2 separate regions of the Homo sapiens genome follow, and region 1 is linked to region 2. The links are contacts of gene promoters, found by promoter capture Hi-C in blood cells and fetal thymus (Javierre and others, 2016). All regions are on one chromosome and are shown on one strand. The core of a region is centred on a gene start or on the middle of the fragment in contact, and the rest is flanking DNA. Distances in the headings are between cores, read along the strand shown. Region 1 holds the start of AKAP9 (A-kinase anchoring protein 9). Region 2 holds the start of HEPACAM2 (HEPACAM family member 2).

Region 1 (6,046 bases), core at 2,731-5,230, 1.3 Mb before region 2:
TGATTTACAGTGCCTTCTATGGAAGCCTCCAGTGACCTTCACCTTGCTATATCCAATCCTCATTTTACGTGACCTATTAGTAGCAGTTGTCTTGGTTCATCACTCCCTCCTCCTTCACTTTCTTCGCTTGGCTACTGATTCCTTTCACATATCTAGCCACTGTTCTCAGTCTCATTTGCAGATTCTGCTCACCTTGCCTCCCTCTTAGAGTTGAAGTATTCCAAAACTCAGTCTTTGTAACACCTTTCTATCTAAACTTGCTCCTTAAAGCAGCATGGTCCAATAGAAAAATAATGTGAGCCACAAATGCAAGCCACATATGTAATTTGAAACTTTGTAGTAACTTCATTTAAAAAAAAAAGAAACTGGTGAAATTAATATATATTTTATTAAACCCAATAGGTCCCAAATATAATCATTTTAATAATATAAAAATAGTGCAATATTTTGTTATTTTATTTTAATATTAAGTCTTCCAAATCCAAAGTGTTACACTTACAGCACATCTCAATTCAGACTAGCTAATAGCTGTTGTATTGAATAGCATGGCCCTAGATTATCTCATCCAATTCCTTAACTTAAAATACCATCTACATCCTGAATACTGACTACTCTCACATTTCTATTTCTAGCTTGGACCTGTCTCCTGAATCCAGACTAACTGATGTCTTAGGGTGACATCAGTTCTTGGATGCCTAATGTGTATGTCTAAATTACCATGTCCAAAACTGAACACTTGGTCCCCAGATTTTCTCTTCTCCATTTTGGTTACTGGCAACTTCATCACTTCAGTTGCTCAAGCCAAAAATGTTGGAGTCAACCTTGACTTTTCTTTTTGTCTCAAACCTCATATCCAATATACAACTCCTATGATACTATTGGTTCTATGTTCAAAAGATATCCAGAATCTGATTCCATATCTTTTCCTCCACTACAGTACTATGGCCCAAATTCCCATTATCTGGGATTACTGAAATAACATCCAAACTGATCCCCCTTTCTCCTCATAGCAGCCAAATGTCCGTGAACAACATAAGCCAAATCATGTCATTCATCTGCTCAAAATTCTCCAATGGCTCCTAATCTTACCCAGAGTAAAAGCTGAAGTCCTTACAATGACCTTTAGAACTCTACAGGATCTGAAGCCGGGCATGGTGGATCACCTGTAACCCCAGCACTTTGGGAGGCTGAGGCGGGCGGATTGCTTGAGCTCAGGAGTTTCAGACCAGCCTGGGCAACATGGTGAAACCCTGCCTCTACAAAAAATACAAAAATAAGCTGGCTATGGCAGAGTGCGCCTGTGGCCCCAGCTACTCAGGAGGCTGACGTGGGAGGATTGCTTGAGCCCGGGAGGTTGCAGTGAGCCAAGATTGGGCCACTGCATTCAGCCTGGGTGACACAGTGAGGCTCCGTTTAAAAAAGAAAGAAAGAAAGAAAGAAAAGAACTCTACAGGATCTGGCCCCCTGTTACTTTTCTGACTTCATCTCCTACTATTTCCCTTGTTTATTCCACTCTAGCCACCCTCACCTCCTACTCTTCCTTGAGAAGGTCCATCATGGTCTCGCTTGAGGGCCTTTCTTTGGATTTGCTGTACCCTCAACTATCTCCGTGGCTCTCTACCCCCACCCACCACCTGCTTGTTTTTTGGGACAGTGTCACCTGTTGTCTAGGTCCTTACTCTAGAGTGCAGTGGCACAATCTGGGCTCACTGCTTTGGCCTCCCGGCCTCAAGTGATCCTCCCGCCTCAGGCTCTGGAGTAGCTAGGACTACAGGCTCCCGCCACCACACCCAGTATTTTATTTTTATTTATTTATTTATTTATTTTGTAGAGACAGGGTTTCGTCATGTTGCCCAGGCTGGTTTCGAACTCCTGAGCTTAAGCGATCCACCCCGCTCAGCCTCCCAAAGTGCTGGGATTACAGGCGTGCACCACCCCGCCCAGCCTCCTCATCTCTTTCAAGTCTTTGCTGAAATATCTTCTGAAAGAATCACCTGAGTAAGTGAATGACATGACATGAATTAATGATTGGTATGACAAGTTATGACAGAATAGGTGCCATAAGGAAGAGTCAGAACACTAGTGCCCAATGCTTGCTCTTCTAATAGAAGTTAACACAAATCTAACTTTCAACATTGATTGAGCACCCATTATGTAAACTAGACATGTATATGATTGGCTGCTATCAGTGAAGGAAACATTGAAATAATCTTGTTGCTTTGGAAGGTATTCTTGAACATTCTCAGCACCTACAAACAGCTGACTTATTTAGTCACCGAGAAAGCAGTATCCTTTAACAAACAGGAATAGCTTTGGATACCCTGGGGCTTCCCCCTCCTAGGCAATCAGCATCTACACTCATAATCCCTCAATCCAGGCAGTATTTAAATCACTGCACTATTAGAACACTTAGTTCTAGTCCTTACTCTTAATTTGATGGGTGACTAAGTAAATCACTTATTGCCTCAATTCTTTCATCCCTATGATAAAATGTCTAATTTTACCTGGTTCCTAATTCAGGTTGAGATAACAGGACAATATGCACTTGGCTGTTAGAAGTTGGCAGAATGTATGCATTACGGAGCTTAAGAAAAAAATCTTTTTTAAAGCTAAGATTTCTAAATGAGGGCTATTTAAAACTCATCTTCAGTTTGTGGTAGACTTAAGGTCTTTATTATCTCCTTTTTTGTTTTTTAACCTCAATTTTTCACTTAACACCACTTCTACGCTTGAACTCATTTTAGCCTATTTTTTGTTCACAACTGCTAGTTTTTCAGTCCAACCTAGCTCAAAGCAACGGAGAAACATGATAAATCTGAGTAATCAACCAGAGACATTAAAATGTGTAGTTCACTCCAGGAATGGATGTGAGCATTGGAGGGCAGGGAGACGAACACAAAGGACTGAGGGAGCACATGTCGGGGAAACAAGGAAAGATAGTAATGTTAAATTTATAAACACTGCTCAATTCAATCCAAAAAGCGTTTATTGAGTGCAGAGCTCTGTGCTGGTCATTTTAGTAAAGCCAAGATGAGCAAGACTTATGATGAGTCTCTGTCATCAAGGAGCTGGGAGTATGAGCTGAACTAAGACGCACACAAATTATTAAAATATGGTGCAGGGTACTTAAAGGAAGTCCAAGGAGAAATAAAGCTGACATTATTCAGGACGTTTTAATATGTCAGGGCAGTCACATATATTAACAACCCTTCCAAAAATTCCAGGTAGGCTCAGGGAGGATAGGTAACTTGTCATTAACGCTAGAAAGTTAGTGTAGTCTGGCATTGTCCCTAACCGAGGTTCTAAAGCTCAGGCTCCTTTCAGAACACTACTGTTAAAGGGAAGCCCCAAAGAGTCGGGGGAGGGGACTAAGTTTTGACTGGATGTGTCTCGGTTGCCGTGGAGGGAACAAGAGGTCAGAAAAGCCATTTGGAGGCAGCGTGTGCGATGGGACTATAAGGATGAACCGGAGATTGAGTGGGAACCAGTGGAGGGAAGAGGGAGGGACTTTTCAGGCTAAGGAAGTAATAAGAGCAATTAGCTGCTCTCATAATTCTTGAGTCAAGCAGTTAATGTAGGTAGAAAACCTGGCGTCCGCCCCCCCACCACCCCCCACCGGAACTTTTCCGTTGGAGCTTGTAGGTGTTCGCCAATTTCACCATTAGGTGTGTTAGTTTTGTAACCTGAAGGAAAAAAAAAACTCATGTTTTAATAGCAGTGGATTCCTCGGACGGAGGGTGGGGGTCAGGCCAGGAGCCTCTGGCACACTCCGTCTCTCCTACCCCTCAGCTCGGCCGCCACCTGTGAGCCGTTGATGTGCGGGAAGGGCGCTCTCTACGGCGGGATCCTCGCTGGTAGGAGGCAGGTCCCAGGCCTGGCAAGGGTTGACCCCGGAGGGCTGGGCCGGGGCGGCACCCCAGGAGCACCTGCCCACGAGGCGGCTGCGCGGACAGACGTTCCAGCCCCTCCCGCCTCGCCGTGTGTTTACGTGGAGACGAAGATGGCGGCGGCGGCGGCGGTGACGGCGCTTCCCGTGCGGCTGAGGACGATCCGCCAGTGAGCGCGGAGACTGCTTCCACTTCGGGCGGGGGAGCGCCGGACCGAATCGGCTCTCTAGGCCGTGGAGCTTGCCGTCCCACCTCCGTCCAAATCGACCTTTCCTTTCTATCCCCAACCACCCCTCAACCCCTGTTTTCCCCTGCCTTCCTTGCAGAGGCCATGGAGGACGAGGAGAGACAGAAGAAGCTGGAGGCCGGCAAAGCCAAGGTAGGAGAGCCCGAGGCAACCGGGCCTGCGGTGGGAGGCGGTGGCTAGCACGGGGTGGGAGGGGGCCTGGGAAGCGGAGTTCGCCGCAGCCCCAGTGCACTGCCCGAGAGGGAGGTGCTGCAGGGTCTTAGGGTCTGCATCTCTCCTCGCCCTCCTCCTTTCCCCTTTTTCCAGTTGGGGGACAAAGCCTTGTGCTAGCTGATAATACTTCCGCGAGGATTGAATATTGTGGCTCCTTTCTCGTGAATGTCCAAATAAAACTCCCCTTTTACTGTATTGCTGTAAACTAGTGTTTAGTTGCTTCTAAACCTCCGATCTTTCATTTTTTTAAGGAGTTTTCTGGGTGGTGCAGGCATTGTGCTTTCCAGGGTGGGGATTTAGGGCTTTTCTTTATTGGGTTGGGGATTTGTGCGCTGATCATCAGCTTGTCTTCCTTAGGTAGCACGCTGGCACTCTTGGGTGTGTGTGATTGGCCTGTGACAGCTGTCTCAGCAGTGGCTTGTGTGTGCCACAAGTGCCAGCTGTGAACTTGGCTTTAGGGGCGTTTTTAGAAGCGTGTCTTTGTATGTTTGTACTTGAAGGTCTTTGTCATGGCATGCGCTTTTGTGTCCTATGGAATGTTAATGCAGTCTGTGAATGGAACTTCTGAGGACCGAAAGGTTCCATATGCCAACACCTATAGAATTCCTGCTTTAAATAATTTAGTTGTTATATATCTCTCTGGCGAATCCTGGTTGTGTGTGTGTGTGTGTGTGTGTGTGTGTGAACGGTTATGGAAAAGCCTGTAAAGCAAACAATACAATACACAATTATACACAGGCATCGTTCATTGGGCTTCATGAGAAATTTAACATATACAGAATATAAGCTGCGTAGCATATTTCTTTTAAAAATTACATATTTGAGCATATATTTTGTCTGGGCTCAAAAGCCCCCTTCCTCCCTTCAATGAAGTCTTCTTTTATGGATTATATTATTTTTAGAGATAATTGTTAGCAGTCATACTTGGACAAAAATTGTATTACAGGTAACTGTTTTTCCTCTCTTCCTTTCTCTTCTCCTCACATAAACAAAGGAAACCAGGTTAGTGATTTATTATCAATGAAGGGCCATACCGCAGAGATGCAGTGATAGAAGCTCAACACAAGTTTGTTAAATGAATATATATATAAAAACTAGCTTCATATTTCTAAAATATAGTTGACTTTCCTATAAGCTCCCTCTATTTAAGATCAAGGTTTAAATGCTTGTATATAGCCAGGTAAATTTTTACTTTCGAATCTATAAATGGTGGGAAAGGGGAATCAGGGTATCTTTAGAAGTCCAAAGCCTACACTTGTGCAATCTGAGGGGCTGAGCAAGCTCTATGCATCTACGGAAGTAGTGGAGGTGAAGTGTGTGCCCCTCCAAAAGCATTGAAGATCTGATTAGATGTCTTACTTGTCTGTTACCTCACAATTTTTATTGCCTGCCCCCAGAAATGTCTTTCCTGAATATATGTGAAGCAGTCCTACAAAACATGGTTTACTTTGGACATACACATTTCATAATAGAGGATTTATTTAAATTGCTTGCAGTTGTAGTTGATGTGGCAAAATACAATTCTAGTTTCTTTGTGTGTTTCTTTATCTTTCAGAATTCTATGTATGGGGTAAAAACCTGTTTAAGGTGAATTTTTGTTGTAAAAGATTATCTTCTTTTAGAATTTAGCCCTTTTTCCAGTAAGATATAAATCTATGAGACTTGTAAGGCAAGGTGTGTTTGCTGCAACATTAGCTAT
Region 2 (5,721 bases), core at 2,553-5,052:
AGGAAGACAAATGCACAAAGGTAGTGACAGTTATAATAATTATTTACTTTTTCAAAAAATTTTAGAAAACAAAAATCTATTATAGGCTTAAATTTGATAACATAAATACTGTGATAACTGGAACAATCACAACTCTGGGAAACTCAAAGACTTAAAAAAATTTACAAACTGTACATTTCAAATGTGTGAGATAGGTACAACAGTAGGTATGAATTTGAATAATAACATTTACAATGCAAACTTTAACAAAATATAGGAGTGAAAGTAAAGCTCTAAATAGCTGAAGAAGCCTAAAAGTTAAATTGCTTATTTTGCTAAGCTGTTCTTAATTTTTAAAAAATGTAGCCTTAATTGAACTCCTATCTGTTGAATATAAACAAAACAAGAAATTGATTTGACTTTTAAAACTGATAAATAGGAAGAATGGAAATGAGAACATCTGGTGAAAATAATGTTGACAGACAGCAGTTGGAATGCTGGAAAGAGACTCCTTTAAACTCAAAAGATAAAGAGGAGAATGAGGGAAAATATTAAGGTAGAAAAAAATTCTTAATAGGACTAGCCATTGGGCAAAGAGAAAAGCTAAAGGCATTTTGGAGTAACAATCTTTTCAAATACGTTCTCCCTTTTGTGTAGGAAATTTTTTTGTTAGTTTGGAATCTTACCTTTCTTCCATATTTCATAAGATGAGACAGATAACTTAAAACGAAGCAGTAAACAGTTTGCAACAATATCTTTAATTAAAAAGAAAACAATTTTCGTAAATTATTTGTAGTTTCACTCTAAGTGGTCACAATTTCATGGCCTATTAGAATATTTGCTGAAATAAATGCATTAAAGACTATTGAACCTATATGTAAACTCTAAAAGAAGAAATTCATTATCTTTTAAAAATATCTGAATTATCTTAATGAGTGCTATGACAATAATTGTTGTTCCAAGAAAACAATAACAATCTATTTATTGAAACTCATTTCTCTTAAATGTTCCTGCTTCTTTGCTGTAACAGTGTGTTATTGTTAAAAGGTTCTGACCTGCTCTTCAATTATCTGAATGCATCTACAGCCTAAAGCAAATATTTACCTTATGTCCACAATTAAAAAAAAAAAACCTAACAAACAGCTAAAACACAATTCACACAGGGCCTTACCGAAGAGAAGGAGGTATATTTTGCACTGAAAGACCCCAAGTGTGTCACCGAAGGGCTCCATGAAAGCATCCTGTCCCATGCATGCAGTGCCCTGTTCTCAGTGGTAACTTGGACCAGCAGCTGCTGGTTTATTTGCTAGGGAAATTAGCAGTGAGGTAACAGACCCTATCTTGCCTCTTGCTTCTGTGATTTGAATACAGAATGAATGTGTATACAAAGGACACAGGGAGTGGGAACACCTGTTATGTGCTTAGCAAGAATACAGGCTTATGGCTTTCAGAAGAGTTTCTTAGCAACTACCAGTAATTGTCTATATATTTCATAAATTATACTTAGTTATTAAAAAATCACATGAAGGAAAACATCCTTTTGCGTGACTTTACTGAAAAATGGCATGTTTTCATAATGAAAGAATATTGTGAGATTTCCTTAAAAACAAAAGCTGGTTTTCTATCATGCAGAACTATGCCATTATTATTTTAAAATTAAAAAAAATTATATGAAAATTGAAGTAGCTCATGTATCTGCTAAACAGTTATAAATCTTCATGAAGTCACTAACATGTAAAAATTCTACCAATGAATCAAAAGAGAGATCCAGAATATATTTAAAACGTATTTTTTCTATGCAGTGTTTCCTATTACAATGACTGATTTCATTTAATCTTTGAATTCATCTTATTTTTAAAAGCAAATCACAGGTGTGTTTCCAACTGGGACTGAGGCATGGACCATGCATAATTATAATGAAAAGTGCATGCCAGGAGATAGTATCTGAGGCCACATTTTCACAGCTGATGCATAGAGGAAGTGAACCAATGATCTAGAAAAGATCTTACCTCTACTGCAGTGTCCAGGTTACAGGTTTTCAACCTGGTCTCTCCATTGTCATGGCAGCAGATAGTCTAAGCATGTCCGCTTAATTTACTAAGTTATTAGTTAACCCCTATTTGCAAGAAGGCTCTGGTTCTAGCCTTGTTATATAAAATGTTAAGGATATATCCAAATCTGCATCAAATCATCAAATCAAGGAAAATTCCTTGCATGCATCAGTTTTAACAGTAAAGGCCCACTGAAGAAGTTCAATGATAAGAGGGGAAGGAAGACTATACCTCAAGCATAATTAAAGTAAAAAAGGAATGATAGTAACTTTGGAATCCAAGTTTGGAAACACTCTTTGCATTAGGGCTCTGAACTCTTCTAGAAGGACTTCTATAAGCAAAGAAAGTAAGTGACTATTGGGAAAACGAAGTCCTCTTCAGAGATCAGTCACTTTCAGATCCCTCCATGCTTCAGAAAAATGGCAAGAGCTCCTCATGCTTCCCCCACCTCCCTGCAAAATAATAACAATGCCACAACTTTCTCTGCACTGTCTCTAAATCTGGTACACACATCTATTGCAGCACTTATCTCCTTAATCTTTATTTTATTGGATGTTTATTTTCCCTCTGAGCTCTCGAATACAGAGAATAATCTTATTCATTCATGGATGTTGGGCACGTAGCATAATGCTTAACTGGTATTTTTGTTAAGTTGTTTCTCCAGAAAACAAAACTCTAAGTGCTCCTTGGCCCGTCTTACGATTCTCAGTTGATGCGTAAGAAATACAAATAAATTTTAATATTGGATTGCACAAAATACAATTTGGAAAGTAATATGGAAGTTCTACAGATATCACATAGGTTCCCCCAACATCTTTTAGATTGATATTAATCTCCAATTGCCGTTATCAAATTAGCTGTTTTCAGTGTTTTTCAATCTAGTGCTGGATTATAATGAAGTTTGTTGGGTCCCTGGCAAAAAGAGAAATAAAGACAATGTACTGTGTTTTTCCCTAGTGTTAAATATACTCAATATAAAGGAGTTTTTTATTCTGAGATTTTCTTTGTTGTATTTGAAAATATTCCCTGTTTCATGACATAAGGTGATAGTAGATGCTACATTAAAAAATAAATGCCATATGAATCTTACTTGTAATCTTTTTATTTCATGGCACATATTGAAATATAATACGGCACATCTAGGGAAAGGGCTACTGGGATAATCATGACAAAGCGCCCTCTAGTGGTAAACTGTAGATATAAACTCTTACCTGCTGGAGTAACTTCTGATTTCAACATGTTTACACAGGAAGTGAGAAAAAGAGTGCTCAAGCTTAACTTCAACAATTGTTAATTTTTACATGATTCTTAAAAATAGTTTGAAGGTTTTATAATTATAAGAATTTTCCTACCATCCATATCTCACATCACACCTGTAACCCACTGGGAAGTTCTGCTGTTATCATTCCAGTCAGGAAAAAAGGGCCTGTAGTGTTACTGTTTACCAATCTTAGTTATATTTGCATTTAAAATGAGAAGGCTGATTAACCTAAAACAATCTATATCCACGGTGATTAAACTGCAAGCAATGTAAGGAGCCACTGGGATAGAGTATGCGTGTGTGTGTCCACGTGCATTTACAATGGGATATGGACACATATACTCCTGTGCAGGAGGGTGTGTGTGTGTGTGTGTGTGTGTATGTGTGTGTATGTTTGTTGGGGGCAGGGATTTTTATTACCTCTCAAATCACACTACACAGTTTACAATCTAGTTTATTTAAATTGCAGACTGGTATTACTTCATACAGTAAATGTCTGCTGCATGCATTTCAAACATCCACATTTTTAATCACAAGTAGCTAGCACACGCATGTTTTGCAGTGGCAGAAACAATTAAGGAGAGGTGGTGAAATGCCAAGGTCAATGTAGATGCAGAACAGTGGGGAATAAGAACTGGGGAAAGAAATGTTTCTTATTGTTGTAATTAGTGGATTCTCTCCAGTTTACAGGGAGAGTTAGCTGCCAGAGGAGGCTATCACATATGCCTATGCCTGTGCTAGTGTTCACTTCTGTAAAGTCTACAAAGCTGCCTCGTGGAAGCCTTGATCTATCTTATATGGCTGCTAAATACTAAGCAGTAATGTCTTCTTCCTGGGCACCTCTTTAGGTCACTACTTTACCTTTGGCAAGTGTTCTGTTTTCTGTTATGGCCTGCTCAAGAAGTGTAGTCATATCATCTTGGAGGGGCTGCATCTCTCCACTGCTTTGGTATTTGTGGAGTGGTAAGAAATTTTATCTTTCTAATCAAACCAGGATCTCAGCTTTTATTTAAGCTTCCAGACATTCCTCCTGTTTTGGGCCATTAGTAATATGCCCTTATCCTACTTTACTACTAATCCTATTGTTCTGAATCAGATCAATTTACTTAACTCTTGGCTCTGCACTCCTTTACCAAGGAATTGGTATCCAGCCAACCTTCCCCAGGATTTGGTGGCAGACCATCTAAACTTTCCATTATTTTGCACTGGACTATCACTAACAACAGCTCTCAGGTAAATGTGAAAGTCCTGAATAAATCTTAAAAATAAATACCTTTTTGAAAATTGGAAAGGAAATAGCAGCATGTCCAACCTTTTAAAAAGTGTTTGTTAGGATGCCAAGTTTTTTGTTTTTTTGAGCGTAGACAGATAGAAATGAATAACGTAAGGTTCAATTATTTCATATAGTGTTAAGGTATGCTGAATTAGAAAATATAGTTTATTTAGACACCAGCGCTGATTTACTTTACAAGCTTTCAATATTATAGTTATAGCCTTAAAACATTTAGAAGACTGTATCCATTTTTATCCATTTCTCCAGTTTGTAGGAAATAAACTAAAATGTAGAGTTTTGGAGTAAAACAAAGTTTCAATACTTTCTTGCGTTTTCAGTGTCGAATAGATAGGGATAACACTCATTTTTCTGAATTTGGCCAATAGAAATACACATATTAGATAAAAAAAACTTTTTGGGGGGATCATCTTTAACTTTGTGTATTTGAGTATGTGAGGGAGAAAATTCCGGGGTTGAATCTGGGTTCTAGTCCTAGATCAAGCTCTCATGAAATATGTGGTCTCGAACCCTTATACAGATACGTTTTCTCATCTTTACAGCATGGATTTGACATGCTAGAGCTGGACTGCCTTTAAGAATCACTGAAGATTTTAAACAAACAAACATCCCCAAAGAAAACAACAATAATAACAGCACACACCTCAGGTGAATCTGAACAGTCAGGTTTGAGATCTACTGAACTCAGATCACCCCTAAGATATGCTTTTAAACCCAGTTGTGAACTCCTTGTGACCACAACCATAGATTATTAATCAAAGTGCTTATTTTAGTGTTGCCTTGAGCGCAACAATCAAGAAATGTTTATTGACTTGGGTTTTATTTTATAGGCTAATATGGCTGGCAGTTTTTGTTTCTTTTGATGCTTTCAGGGACTTCTAAATATTGCAGATTTTCACACACAAAGAACAGTCTGACAATTAAGATTAGAGAAGGTAAAGAATAAACTAAACTAGACTTGCCCTAAATGTGACCAGAATTTCTTGAAGGGGTTAGAAATAACAGAGTCAGAGAAGCATATAGGTAAACATATAATTTCAAAGGAATTGCTGAACGCAGTGATGATACAAGTATGCACAAGGTGGTTCTGTTGGAGTAGAGAACTGGGCAGAATCAAAACCAATAATACCTCATAATTG

Evidence for each region. Contacts are between HindIII fragments. The CHiCAGO score rates a contact against its expected background, and 5 or more counts as called.
Region 1: a contact is called between the fragment with the promoter of AKAP9 here and a fragment that was not itself captured in region 2, in 1 of 17 cell types (total CD8 T cells). The highest score is 5.7, in total CD8 T cells.

The regions. Positions count from the first base shown.
Region 1 is chr7:91,936,882-91,942,927 of GRCh38, forward strand. It overlaps AKAP9 (A-kinase anchoring protein 9), which reads left to right and starts at 3,981. Exons shown (of 50, transcript NM_005751.5): 1 at 3,981-4,266. The coding sequence starts at 4,219. LOC124901698 (a long non-coding RNA gene) reads right to left here and starts at 3,970. Exons shown (of 2, transcript XR_007060431.1): 1 at 3,783-3,970; 2 at 2,969-3,683. RefSeq lists enhancers at 3,522-4,083, 4,122-4,271 and a silencer at 3,812-3,921. The HindIII fragment of the contact is 23,233 bases long and covers 1-6,046 here.
Region 2 is chr7:93,225,218-93,230,938 of GRCh38, forward strand. It overlaps HEPACAM2 (HEPACAM family member 2), which reads right to left and starts at 1,252. Exons shown (of 10, transcript NM_001039372.4): 1 at 1,151-1,252. The coding sequence starts at 1,229. The HindIII fragment of the contact is 1,002 bases long and covers 3,302-4,303 here.